Linked DNA regions of Homo sapiens: all the other regions are linked to region 4. Evidence: promoter capture Hi-C in 16 types of primary human blood cells and fetal thymus (Javierre and others, 2016). All regions are on one chromosome and are shown on one strand. The core of a region is centred on a gene start or on the middle of the fragment in contact, and the rest is flanking DNA. Distances in the headings are between cores, read along the strand shown.

Evidence for each region. Contacts are between HindIII fragments. The CHiCAGO score rates a contact against its expected background, and 5 or more counts as called.
Region 1: a fragment that was not itself captured here is called in contact with the fragment with the promoter of RAB9A in region 4 in 2 of 17 cell types (non-activated CD4 T cells and fetal thymus); the score reaches 6.8 in non-activated CD4 T cells.
Region 2: the fragment with the promoter of FAM9C here is called in contact with the fragment with the promoter of RAB9A in region 4 in 2 of 17 cell types (naive CD4 T cells and M0 macrophages); the score reaches 6.7 in naive CD4 T cells.
Region 3: a fragment that was not itself captured here is called in contact with the fragment with the promoter of RAB9A in region 4 in 1 of 17 cell types (total CD8 T cells); the score reaches 5.1 in total CD8 T cells.

The regions. Positions count from the first base shown.
Region 1 is chrX:12,793,560-12,796,259 of GRCh38, forward strand. All of the region lies in intron 1 of PRPS2 (phosphoribosyl pyrophosphate synthetase 2), which reads left to right. Among named protein-coding and RNA genes, the nearest start is that of PRPS2, 3.5 kb to the left of the region's middle. The HindIII fragment of the contact is 1,610 bases long and covers 601-2,210 here.
Region 2 is chrX:13,043,352-13,046,051 of GRCh38, forward strand. FAM9C (family with sequence similarity 9 member C) reads right to left here and starts at 1,269. Exons shown (of 8, transcript NM_174901.6): 1 at 1,189-1,269; 2 at 378-506. The coding sequence starts at 438. LOC105373133 (a long non-coding RNA gene) reads left to right here and starts at 1,382. Exons shown (of 4, transcript NR_171577.1): 1 at 1,382-1,498. The HindIII fragment of the contact is 8,868 bases long and covers 7-2,700 here.
Region 3 is chrX:13,024,739-13,027,438 of GRCh38, forward strand. No RefSeq gene overlaps it. Among named protein-coding and RNA genes, the nearest start is that of FAM9C, 19 kb to the right of the region's middle. The HindIII fragment of the contact is 3,108 bases long and covers 1-2,700 here.
Region 4 is chrX:13,687,725-13,690,424 of GRCh38, forward strand. It overlaps RAB9A (RAB9A, member RAS oncogene family), which reads left to right and starts at 1,404. Exons shown (of 3, transcript NM_004251.5): 1 at 1,404-1,564. RefSeq lists an enhancer at 1,104-1,153 and silencers at 1,304-1,543, 1,554-1,713. The HindIII fragment of the contact is 3,610 bases long and covers 553-2,700 here.

The DNA of each region.
Region 1 (2,700 bases), core at 156-2,655, 890 kb before region 4:
GTTCACTGCCTGACTTTTCTCTTTTCCATGAACTGTACAAGTACAGAGCTTAATTTTTATAAACAGCCCTCTCTGGACCAGTTACTGTGCTAGGAATCCAGCTTTTAGCTGTGTAATCGTAGAGAGGAAAAACTGAAGGGCAAAATGAAGACAAAATTGATTCAGTTCATGTAAGGGCCCCTTCTTGAATCTGTCACTGAACTAGGATCAGAAATCTGGTTTGCTGTCTCCTGGCCATCAATCCTCCCATTTTGCGTTTTTTATATGCTACTTTACTGAACATAGAGCCTTCCAATTTTACCTTCTTATCCCTAAATCATTTCAGATATGCAGGGAGAGGTCCGCTCCAGCTTCACTATAGACCATGGAAATTCCATGATGACATCTTAGGACAGCAGGTGTCTAGATGTCTCTGTTGTAACATTTTACTATGGTCAGTTAACCTGCTGGCAGAATCTTTAGCTATACTGTGAGACAAGGTTATGCAAAGTTATACAAGGTTATCGGTTACCATGTAATAAATAAAGAGCTTAATGGCTTAAAACAGTAATTGTTGATTTGGCTTACAAATCTGCAATTTGGGAAGGGCTCAGTGAAGAAAGCTTGTTTTTGCCGCGTATGGTCACAGCTGAGGCTGGTCACAGCTGAGGCGGCTAACTGGGGCTGGAGGGTTCTTGAAGATGGCTCACATGACTGAAGTTGTTACTAGCTTTTGCCTGGGAGCTTGGTTAGGAACCTCAGCTCCTCTTCTTGTAGGCCTCTCCATGGGGCTGCTTGAGCTTCCTTACAGCATGGAAGCTGGGTTCTAAGAGCACATGTTCCAAAAGACAGGACATTGAAGCCACCAGTCCATTAAGGACTGGGCTTGCAAGTTGGTGTATCATAATTTCTGTCATATGCTGTTGGGCAAGTACAGAGCCCTCTCAGATTCAAGGGCGGGAGACTAGACCCTGCTCCTTGATGGGAAATGTGTTAAGAGTCTGTGGCTATCTTTTAGTTACCATGCCCGTTTATTGTTGAGTCAGTGACGCTCTTCAGCGTTTTTATTTGGGGGTCAATAAAGATCCTCTGGCAGAATGGCAAATGGATGCTGCCTTCTAGCCACAATTTTTTAAAGACCTAGAATAAAGGTAGTCATGATCATCTTTTTGAGTAGAAGCAGGACTAGCTTTAGGGGAAAAGTTGCCATGGTGATGATATTCTCTGTCCTCCCCTGGACTGCTAGTCATATGAGAACTGAGGTTCCTGAGTAAAAACAGGCCAAAGAATCTAATCTTGTGGGATAAACGTCATAAGACCAGGAGTTGGCAAAGTTTTTCTGCAAAGGGCCAAATCGTAAATATTTTAGGCAGTGCTAGCACATGTAGTCTCTGTTGCTGCGGTATCTTACAGTTCTGTAAGTTACGGTAATGTCTGTCACAGGTTAGCAGGGCTGTATTCTCTTCTGAGGCTCTAGGGGAGAATCTGTTCCCGTGCCTTTTCCGGTTTCCAGAGGCAGCCCACATTCCTTCACTATTGGCCTCTTCACCTTCAATGTCAGCAACAAAATGTTGCTCTGACCCTGCTTCTGCTGTCTCCCTCTTGCATTTTTAAGGGCCCCATGATTACAATGGGCCAATTTAAATAATCCAGGATAATTTCCCCATGTTAAGGTCAGCTGATGAGCAACCTGAATGCTATCTGCAAATTTACTTCCCCTTTGCCATATAAACTCACATATTCAAAGGATTAGGATGTAGACATCTTTAGGGGGCCATTATTCTGCCTACCACGCCATTCTTAACTCACAGGCCATAGAAAAACAGCCTATGTGCTGTGTTTTGTCAACCTCTCAGCTATATAATACTGTACTTGATTTCTGCTGTAGTTCATTTTGTGCTGCTATAACAGAATACCAGAGACTGGCTAATTTATAAACAATAGAAATTTGTTTCTCACAGGTCTGGAGGCTGGGAAGTCCAATACTGAGGGGCTGGCATCTGGCAAGGGCTTTCTTGCTGCATCATCCCATGGCAGAAGGGTGGAAGGGCAAGAGAGCATATTTGAGAGAGAGCAATAGAGGGCCAAATTTGCTAATATAATAAACCCATTCTCAAGATAATGAGCACACTCTAGCAATGATGACGTTAATCCGTTTGTGAGGACAGAGCCCTTATGACCTAATCACCTCTTAAAGGTCTCACCTGTCAATACTCCTATACTGGGGATTAAGCTTTCAACACATGAACTTTAGGGAACACATTTAAACCATAGCAATTTCCAAATTAAGTTTATGTCATAGTTGATGTAGTGTTCACAAAGCAGTTAGATTTAGCTCCTTAGATCTTCAAATAGGAGGGAGCACATAGAACTCTTTCTATCCCCCTCATCCTGTGAGGTTGGCATATTTTCATCCATAGTAGAAGGCGTGCAAGAAGATGTGTGAATGTTATCAAAACTAATTTTCACAACATGTCAACTTGAAAAACTTTATTTTTATTTTCCTTTTCTTTAAAATTTTTTTTAGAGACGGGGTCTTGCTATGTTGCCCAGGCTGGACTAGAACTCCTGGGCTCAAACAATCCCCTTGCCTCAGTCTCCCAAGTAGCTGGGACTGTGGGCATGAGCCACCATGCCCAGCCTGTTTTTAAATTTTCATTAGGTATAATTGGCTCTTTTTTTTTTTTTTTTTTTTTTTTGAGACAGAGTTTCACTTTTGTT
Region 2 (2,700 bases), core at 19-2,518, 640 kb before region 4:
AATTAAAGCTTTACCGCAGAGCTATACATGGAATCGCCGGCTCCTAACCATTTTACGGAGGCATTTTTGGAAGCCCTTCGGGTTCAAGTCCCAGTAAACAACGTTCACAGGTCAGATCCCTTGGATGTCAGGACCGCATCCATGGAGAAGAGCTGCTCTGAGAGCATCTGTAACCCTGCTATGAGGGGGAGCCTCCCACGGGAAGCCTAAGGCCCTTGAGCCTGCTTTGAAAACCTGGGGCATCTCAGCACATGCACGGTGAGCTCCAAAGCCACGAAGGGGCCGGGGGCCTCGGGCTGCCCATGTGCGCCCCGCCCAGAAAGCAGACAGACTGTTGGGCGTGCACCTTCTTCTAGGTCCCCTTGGGCTGTGTTTACCTGCAAGCTCCATTTCCTGGGCGGCCATAACTTGAACCTCCAACTGGTCCTTGGCAGCCATCCTGCTGCCCTTCCTGCCCACGGGCTCCGTGGCTGACTGGCCTGGGAAGCTAGAGGCGACCTCTGAACCTGGTGAGTGCAAAGACACACTAAGGACACTAAGGAAACGAGGCGTGTTAAATGAAAATCATCAGGATCGCAGGTTCAAGGGCGCCCCGGGTCTCCCGTGGGAGCAGGAGGGGACGCGGAGAAGATGCCATCATCCCCTCCTGTCCTGGCCCGTCCAGCGCTTCCCCGGGGCTGGCTGCAGAGCTCGCAGAATTCCGCGGCCTCTGCGGGATTCTTGCAGTGCCCTTGGGACAGAGCCTGGCCCTGCCCCTGGGTTCCCCAGCGACCCAGTGGAGTCGGGAGGGCCGCGGGGTGACACAGGATCTCCCCAGCCATCTCCATGGGAATGAGCCGGTACGCACCTGTTTCTGACAGGGGCAGGGACTGCCCATTCGCCAGCCTGGACGCCCAGGGGACCCCTGGTGACCCCAAGTATCCCGTCCTGATGGGCAGCCAGACAAGACGGACCCACGTTGACCCCCCGACCCCCCCCCAAACGCTGCACACATGCACAGGCCTCCGGGACCCTCCTGGGTCCTGGGGACCACTCAGGCAGCTCCAACTCCCTGCCCTGACCCAGGCCCCAGGCGACAATGCCTGGGCCATTTCCTCACAGATCAGCCTGGCTGCCCCGCCCTTCACACCCTCTTCCCCAAAGGGCCTCTGGCCCGCCTTCCCCGCATCCCCACCGAGGGCGTCTCACCTGAGGGAGCCCTGATGTTGCTCCCTCAGAGGACCTGCAGAGGCTGGCACCGCGAAGCTCCTCCGAGGGCCTGGGTCCTCTGTTCTCACGAGAGCAGCAGCCGCCCCGGCTGCCCGCGCTCCTCGCTGATTGGTCGGCCCAGTGCGCATGCAGGTGGCGGGCGGCATGGGGCCACGCCCCCTGCAGGCACACCCTCCCCCTCACGGACTGTCCATGGCTGCTGTGGACTCATTGGGTGGCTCTCTGAGGCCTCTGTCCCCACGATATTCCAGCTCCTCATCCTGGTGAAGGAAGCAAGGACTCGGGAGTGGTGAGTGCCAGGGGACCCTGCCCTAAGGAATGGAGGCCAAGTGAACGGGGCCTAGGACCTTGCCCCCAGGCTCGTTCCAGCCACTCCTGCCCCTTTGGGTGGAATGGCCATCACCCTGCGGGTGGAGCCCAGGCTCCCTCCCATGTCCTGTGTGCTTCCAACACGCCCAGCTGCATCCTTTTTATCAATGGATTGTGCTTTTATGTTTTATCTAAGAAAATTGTTGACTCCCAGCAGGGGCAGGTAGTTTTCTCCTATCCTACTCCATTCCCTCACACTGGGCATTGCATGATTCTGCAGTGGATATACAAAGTTAAAGACTTTATGTCTAGATTTCTCATGATGTGGTCATTTCTTTTCTTTCATTTTTCTTTTTTCTTTTTTTTTTTTTTTTTGACAGGGTCTTGCTCTGTCACCCAGGCTGGGCTGCAATGGTGTAATCACTACTCACTGTAGCCTCAACTGCCCGCGCTCAAGGGATCCTCCCACCACAGCCTCCCAAGTAGCTGGGACTACAGGCATGTCCCACCATGCCCAGCTAATTTTATTTTATTTATTTATTTATTTTTAGAGACAGAGTCTTACTCTGTCCCCAGGCTGGAGTGCAGTGGCACGATCTCGGCTTCCTGCAACCTCTGCCTCCCTGGTTCAAGCAATTCTCCTGCCTCAGCCTCCCAAGTAGCTGGGACTATAGGCGCACGCCGCCACGCCTGGCTGATTTTTTTTTTTTTTTTTTTGTATTTTAGTAGAGACAGGGTTTCACCGTGTTGCCCAGGCTGGTCTCGAACTCCTGAGCTCAGTCAGTCTGCCCGCCTCAGCCTCCCAAAGTGCTAGGATTACAGGCATGAACCACCGCTCCTGGCCAATTTTGTTTATTTTTTGCAGAGATGAGGTCTCACTATGTTGCCCAGGCTGGTCTGCAACTCCTGGGCTCAAGCGATCCGCCCGCCTCAGCCTCCTAAAGTGCTGGGGTTACAGGCTTGAGCCATCGTGCCCAGCCCGATTATTTCCACAGCTGGGTTGGAAGCCATCTTTCCCTGACAAGGCAGCTCACCTTTATATCTAAGAGTTCTCTATAACCTAAAGAGAATCCCTAATTACTGACACTAAATACCACCAGCTGTCCCCATTTCCCCACAATCTACTTGGTACCCAAATTAGCCAATGAGACATCTTGGGGAATTTTAAGCCATGATTGCTTC
Region 3 (2,700 bases), core at 22-2,521, 660 kb before region 4:
CCTGCCTCAGCCTCCTCAGCAGCTGGGACTACAGGCACACGCCGCCACGCCCGGCTAATTTTTGTATTTTTAGTAGAGACGGGGTTTCACTGTGTTAGCCAGGACGGTCTCGATCTCCTGACCTTGTGATCCGCCCGCCTCCCAAAGTGCTGGGATTACAGGCATGAGCCACCGCGCCTGGCGCGTCTTTCCCTTTTTAGCCAATTATTTTGTTGTGTAGACAGAGCCTCAACCAGCCCCGGTACCATTTGTCTCTTCCCAACGACTCCTCCCTATTCTCCTTCCTGGTAGTTCTGTGGGCTCCTTCATGCTGGTTTCCATGCCACAACCTATCTGGAATCTTGGAATTGCAGAACTTCAGAGGAAAGAGAAGTCTGGAGTATATCTGAAGTCATGACAAACAACTTCCTTTCCCCATAGCTGATAAAGAATGGGCCTGCAGGTCCCATATGAAGGGAAGGTGTGAACACCCTGCATGATAGGAAACAGTTTACAATGCCCTGGAGGTCCCTATGATTCACTGAGCAGTGCTGGACAACTAGACAAAAGCAAATATATCCACCCGGTTCAGGGGGCTTAGCCAGCTGTTTACCACGCCAGCAGTTTTCCTGTTTCACACCCCATATCCTTAATATAGGGCATTCTCTTAAGGGACCTATCATGTCCCTTCCAGTACACTCATTGTCAGTCTTTCCTTTTTTCTCCTCCCTTCACTCTTTCCACATTTCATCCAAATTGTTCTCTTTTCCTCCCCCTCCAGGGGAGAACAGGAGGATGGCCTGTGCCTGTTTCCAGTCTTACCATGAGCACAGCCAGTTGGTGTTTACACATGAAACGGAACTAACTGATCTCCTATGCATGTACATCAGAGGGAAGTACCTGTTTTCCTTTGAATTCAATAGGCAGCTAATGAGTTTTCCATTCCTTCTGATCTCAACCTGCTGTCACGTCCACTAGTGGGTGATCTTCTTTCTGTTGCAAAAGAAGACTTTCTGAACTCCTATGTGGGTGGTCATTTATGAAGGTTGATTGGTGTTTGAAAATAATTTAGAACTCTGTATGTTCATATGTGTATGTGTGTATGTGTAAAAATAAAACTTGATTGGCATGACATCATGGGTGCTGGGAGTGGGTCTGGTAACCAGAATAAAAAGTGGTCTTCTCTGTCCCTTGTCTAGCCACAATTAGGAGAGAGTATGGATTGTCAGGAAATGGAGCTTGTTCCACCCTCTCACTGTGGCTTAAGAATTTTCTTCTCAACAATGAAAAGATGCACAGATCATAGTACAGGAGATAATAAGAGTCACTCTTGCTATCTTCAGCAGATCATAGTTGTACACCATTCTATAAAAATATGAGAGAGAGAGAGAGAGAGAGAGAGAGAGAGAGAGAGAGAAAGATCTTTGTAGGAATAAACATAGAAAGCCATTTTATCTACAAAGCCAATTCAACCTGGACTGCAGTACTTACAATCATAAAGTTCTAGTTAGGTTATTAGTTAGTGGTTGACAACCATAAAGTACCAGTTAGGTTATTAGTTAGTGATTGGAGGGATGCAAAAGCTGACTTGAATACATGACTTCAATCACTTGGACACATGTTTAATTTCCTGTAAGAAAGCTGCAGAAAATCAATGACCTAAATATCTGAACTTGGGTATTTCCAAGGAAACCACCAGACTTCCCCATTGTCTTAGATTAAATACAATTAATAAAATGCCTAACAGACCCCAGAGTTCTTCTGTGTAATTAGATCAATAGCAGTACAACATCTGAGATTTACTTCTCTCTCCAACAAGACCCTTTAGGCTTGGTAACACATCCAAGTGGAAGAGGAAAGAAAGAAAGAAAAACCCAAAACCAAAAGCACAAATAAAACTACCGCTGAAATTAAGAAGTTAGGATCTTCCCAAAGGCAAGCAACTAAACTCATTCTACCAGTGAGACTGAGTGGAACCCTCTGCTCAGCCATTCCTCAGCATTGGACATGGCTTATTCTTGATGTTTGTATAAAATATGGGTTGGTCCACAGGAAAGACATTCATTTTAAAAATAAGATAAAAAATATGAGTTAGCATCAATAAAATTCTACGTTTTAAGAAATGCAGGTTGGTATTATCAGCCCTGATTTGCAGATAGAAAAACTGGCTGTGAGATCATCAGCAATCCTGACGTCTAGAAGATTTCAAGGCCGGGACTCAAACCTACGACTCTATAGTGTAGAGCTTATGCTGTCTCCTTAAATAGTCATGGCTTCGCTAGGCTCACTAGAGGGAGATGATTTCACATACAATATTTAAAAAGTAAGGATGTAGGGGCAATGAAAATGTGGCCCAACTATATCTTAAAAGGAAGATAGTTCACTGGCATATCAGGTCATGAAACAACCACGAGTGTGAACTAGGAAACCACAATGCATGTGAGAATGGCCCAAACACAATTGACTGCACCATCTGGAGAAAAGGTGAAGCCTACACAGAATGCCAAGTAGAAAAATGAGATGGGTTTATGTCAAGCGAAGATTAACATTTCATGTATCTTCTCACTTTAAGCACTTCGTCCTGCTTCTGGTATATCCCTTCACCCTGAGCTGAAGCGAGTTCATTAGTTAGGTGGAAAACAAGAGGAAAGCCAGTGGAAACTGACACTCTTTTTAGATTGTAACCCCTACTTGGGGCAAACCTACAGGATCTCAATGACA
Region 4 (2,700 bases), core at 154-2,653:
GGCATTAGCAGTTGCACAGATAAACTCCTATTTGATCACTCCTTGACTATGGTTAGGATATACGATTTTCAGGTGGCATTTCTTTAATTACCCTGTGGATTGCTTGTTGCAATTTGACCCAATGTACATGACTTTTTTTTCTATTGGAAAATTAACTCTAGTGTTCATATATAATGTTTTACTGTGTACTTTTAATATGTGTTTTAAAACAAGATAGTGTATATTTCTTCTTCCCCCCAATTTAACAGATTTGTATTTTATAAACGTTTATACATATTTCCTTGGGGAAATGACCTGCAGATAAGAAATAGATTTCTGTTTATGAGAAAACAATTATTTAAGCTTATGTGTCGTTTTCAGAAGCATTCTAAAATTGCCTTTTTAATTTGTGAGGAACTTTCTCAAACATGACCTTTCTAGTGCTGAATGAAAAGTCATTACCTGAAAATGACTCCCCAAAAAGCTGGAGATTATTTAACTTGTTGTGAGCCCCAGCATCATAAAAGTGAGATCTTTGTCTTGGAAAATAAACAGACTAAATCTTTTTTAAAAAGCTTTTATTTTAGGTTTAGGGGTACATGTGTAGGTTTGTCATGTAGGTAAACTGCCTGTTGCAAGGGCTTGGTGTACGGATTATTTAGTTACCCAGGTAATAAGCATAGTACTTGATACCTAGTTTTTTTCTGCTCCTTTTCCTCCTCACACCCTCAACCCTCAAGTGGGCCCTGGTGTCTCTTGTTCCTCTCTATGTGACCATGAGTTCTCATCATTTAGCTTCTACTTATGAGTGAGAACACGCAGTATTTGGTTTTCTGATAAACAAACTAAATCACCGTACAAAACGTATTGAGATGTCCCTATGAGTCCCTCCCGCCTGTAGGGTTCTGTATCATAGGATCCATGCACTCAACTTCATACATAAAGCAAGGACTTAAGGAGAGCTTCTCCAATACCACCTTTTGCACCATCGCTTTCTATTCAGAGATGACAGAGGCAGTATTTTAACAAGATTAAAGGAAAGTTTTAATAGCTTCATTTAAAAAGTTCTTGTTTTTCCACAGTATCACAACTGTTTTCATTTTTCATCCACCTGTTTGTTCTTTGTCCGTTTGACTAGTCGTTTTTATCATTGTAATCACGACATCCTGTGACTGTGCTCATGAGGTCTGTTTATTTCCACTTTACGTAAACTTTTCAAAATGACAGTTATTTCGTACTCGCTGTCGCCCGAACGCAGACGGGAGGACACTTCAGGAGCAATCGACCCGAAGGAAAAGCACGATCCAGGCCCCGCCTGCCTCGGCTCCACCTTCCCCGCGCCCGTCCCCCAGGGTCTCGGCCGCGGGACCCCGCCTTCCAGGCCCCGCCCCGCTTTTTCCCTGGCCCCGCCCCGGCCCGTCGCCATGTTGTTCCCTCCGCGCTGGACGGGAGCAGCTGGAGCGGGAGCCTGGCTGCGCTACCGCGGCTGCCTCCTGCTGTGCAGGTCCCCGACCCTCTCTCTGTCCTCATTGCGCCCAGACGGGCCGGCCCAGAGCTCCCGGGTCGTCTTTCGTGTGGCCGCGAGGTGAGCGGGACTCGGGACTCCTTCGGGACCGGGCGGAGTGCGCGGGTGTCGGGGTCTGAGGGGGCGGCTCGGGCCTCGGGCAGCTGGGGCGGGGTGCGGTGCGCGCGGGGCTAGCGCGGGTCACAAGGCCGCCCCGGGAGAGAGGACGGCTGGTTGTCTCCCTGCCTCCTCTCTGACGCAGGAGGAAAGACGGTCCCCACACCCTTGGGGAGAGGGACTCACAGAAACACACACAAACACTGGAGAAAGGGAGATACAAAAGCCCGGACACCCGTGCACATACACACGGAGAAATACACCCGGTCACCTGGGAACACACGTACACGCCAGCCTTTCCCCCAACCACTCCGGGACACACATCCACAGACCCCAAACCAAATCCTACACCCGAATGATTAATGTAGGGAAAACAAAGGCGCTCCCATGACTTGATTTTGGCGACCTCTGAAGTTCCACCTAGCAGAACGTGTTTGCTCGATGTCTTACGACCACTCGGGTGAGGAATTCGGAAAGTAAAGCCAATCTTAGAGGCTGCAGGCGTTTTGGGGGCATTATCTGATTCAGACGCTGGCTAACGTTTCACAATCGCGTTCCCTTTTTTCTTCCAACTTGGTAAGTAAAAAGGCAAAATGAGAAATTTAAGTGCTGAACTTAATAAATAGTTGGTGGACGTATTGCTTTTTTTTTTTTTTGGTAAGGGATGACACATCTCGTGACTACAGTTCTTTTGAGGAATAACTTTTCTGCTAGTTTCCAAATCGGCACGTGACCACAATCTTTTCATAGGATTTTAGCGTCCTGATAAAAATCAATGGGCAGAATTTGATTGCTTCTTTAAAAATGTGTTTGTCCTTCGGTCTCTGGCACCATTGTAATGGAAAATCCCTACATTGCCTGTACTCTCAGAAGCTGTCCAGTGTAGCAAAACTAGAGATAAAGAAACCTGGAACGATTCAGTTAGGAACTTTTAAGAAGCCAGCCTTTAGTTTTTCCTTTAGAAGATTATGAAGTTATCATGATTGCTTCTCTAGAACTTTAGTAGTTATTTGGATTCCTAAATCTAAGACAATGCTGTGGCAGTCTGGTGCTTTTAGTATTTTTGTGTCTGCTGTGGTAAATTCCTCGTTTATACTACA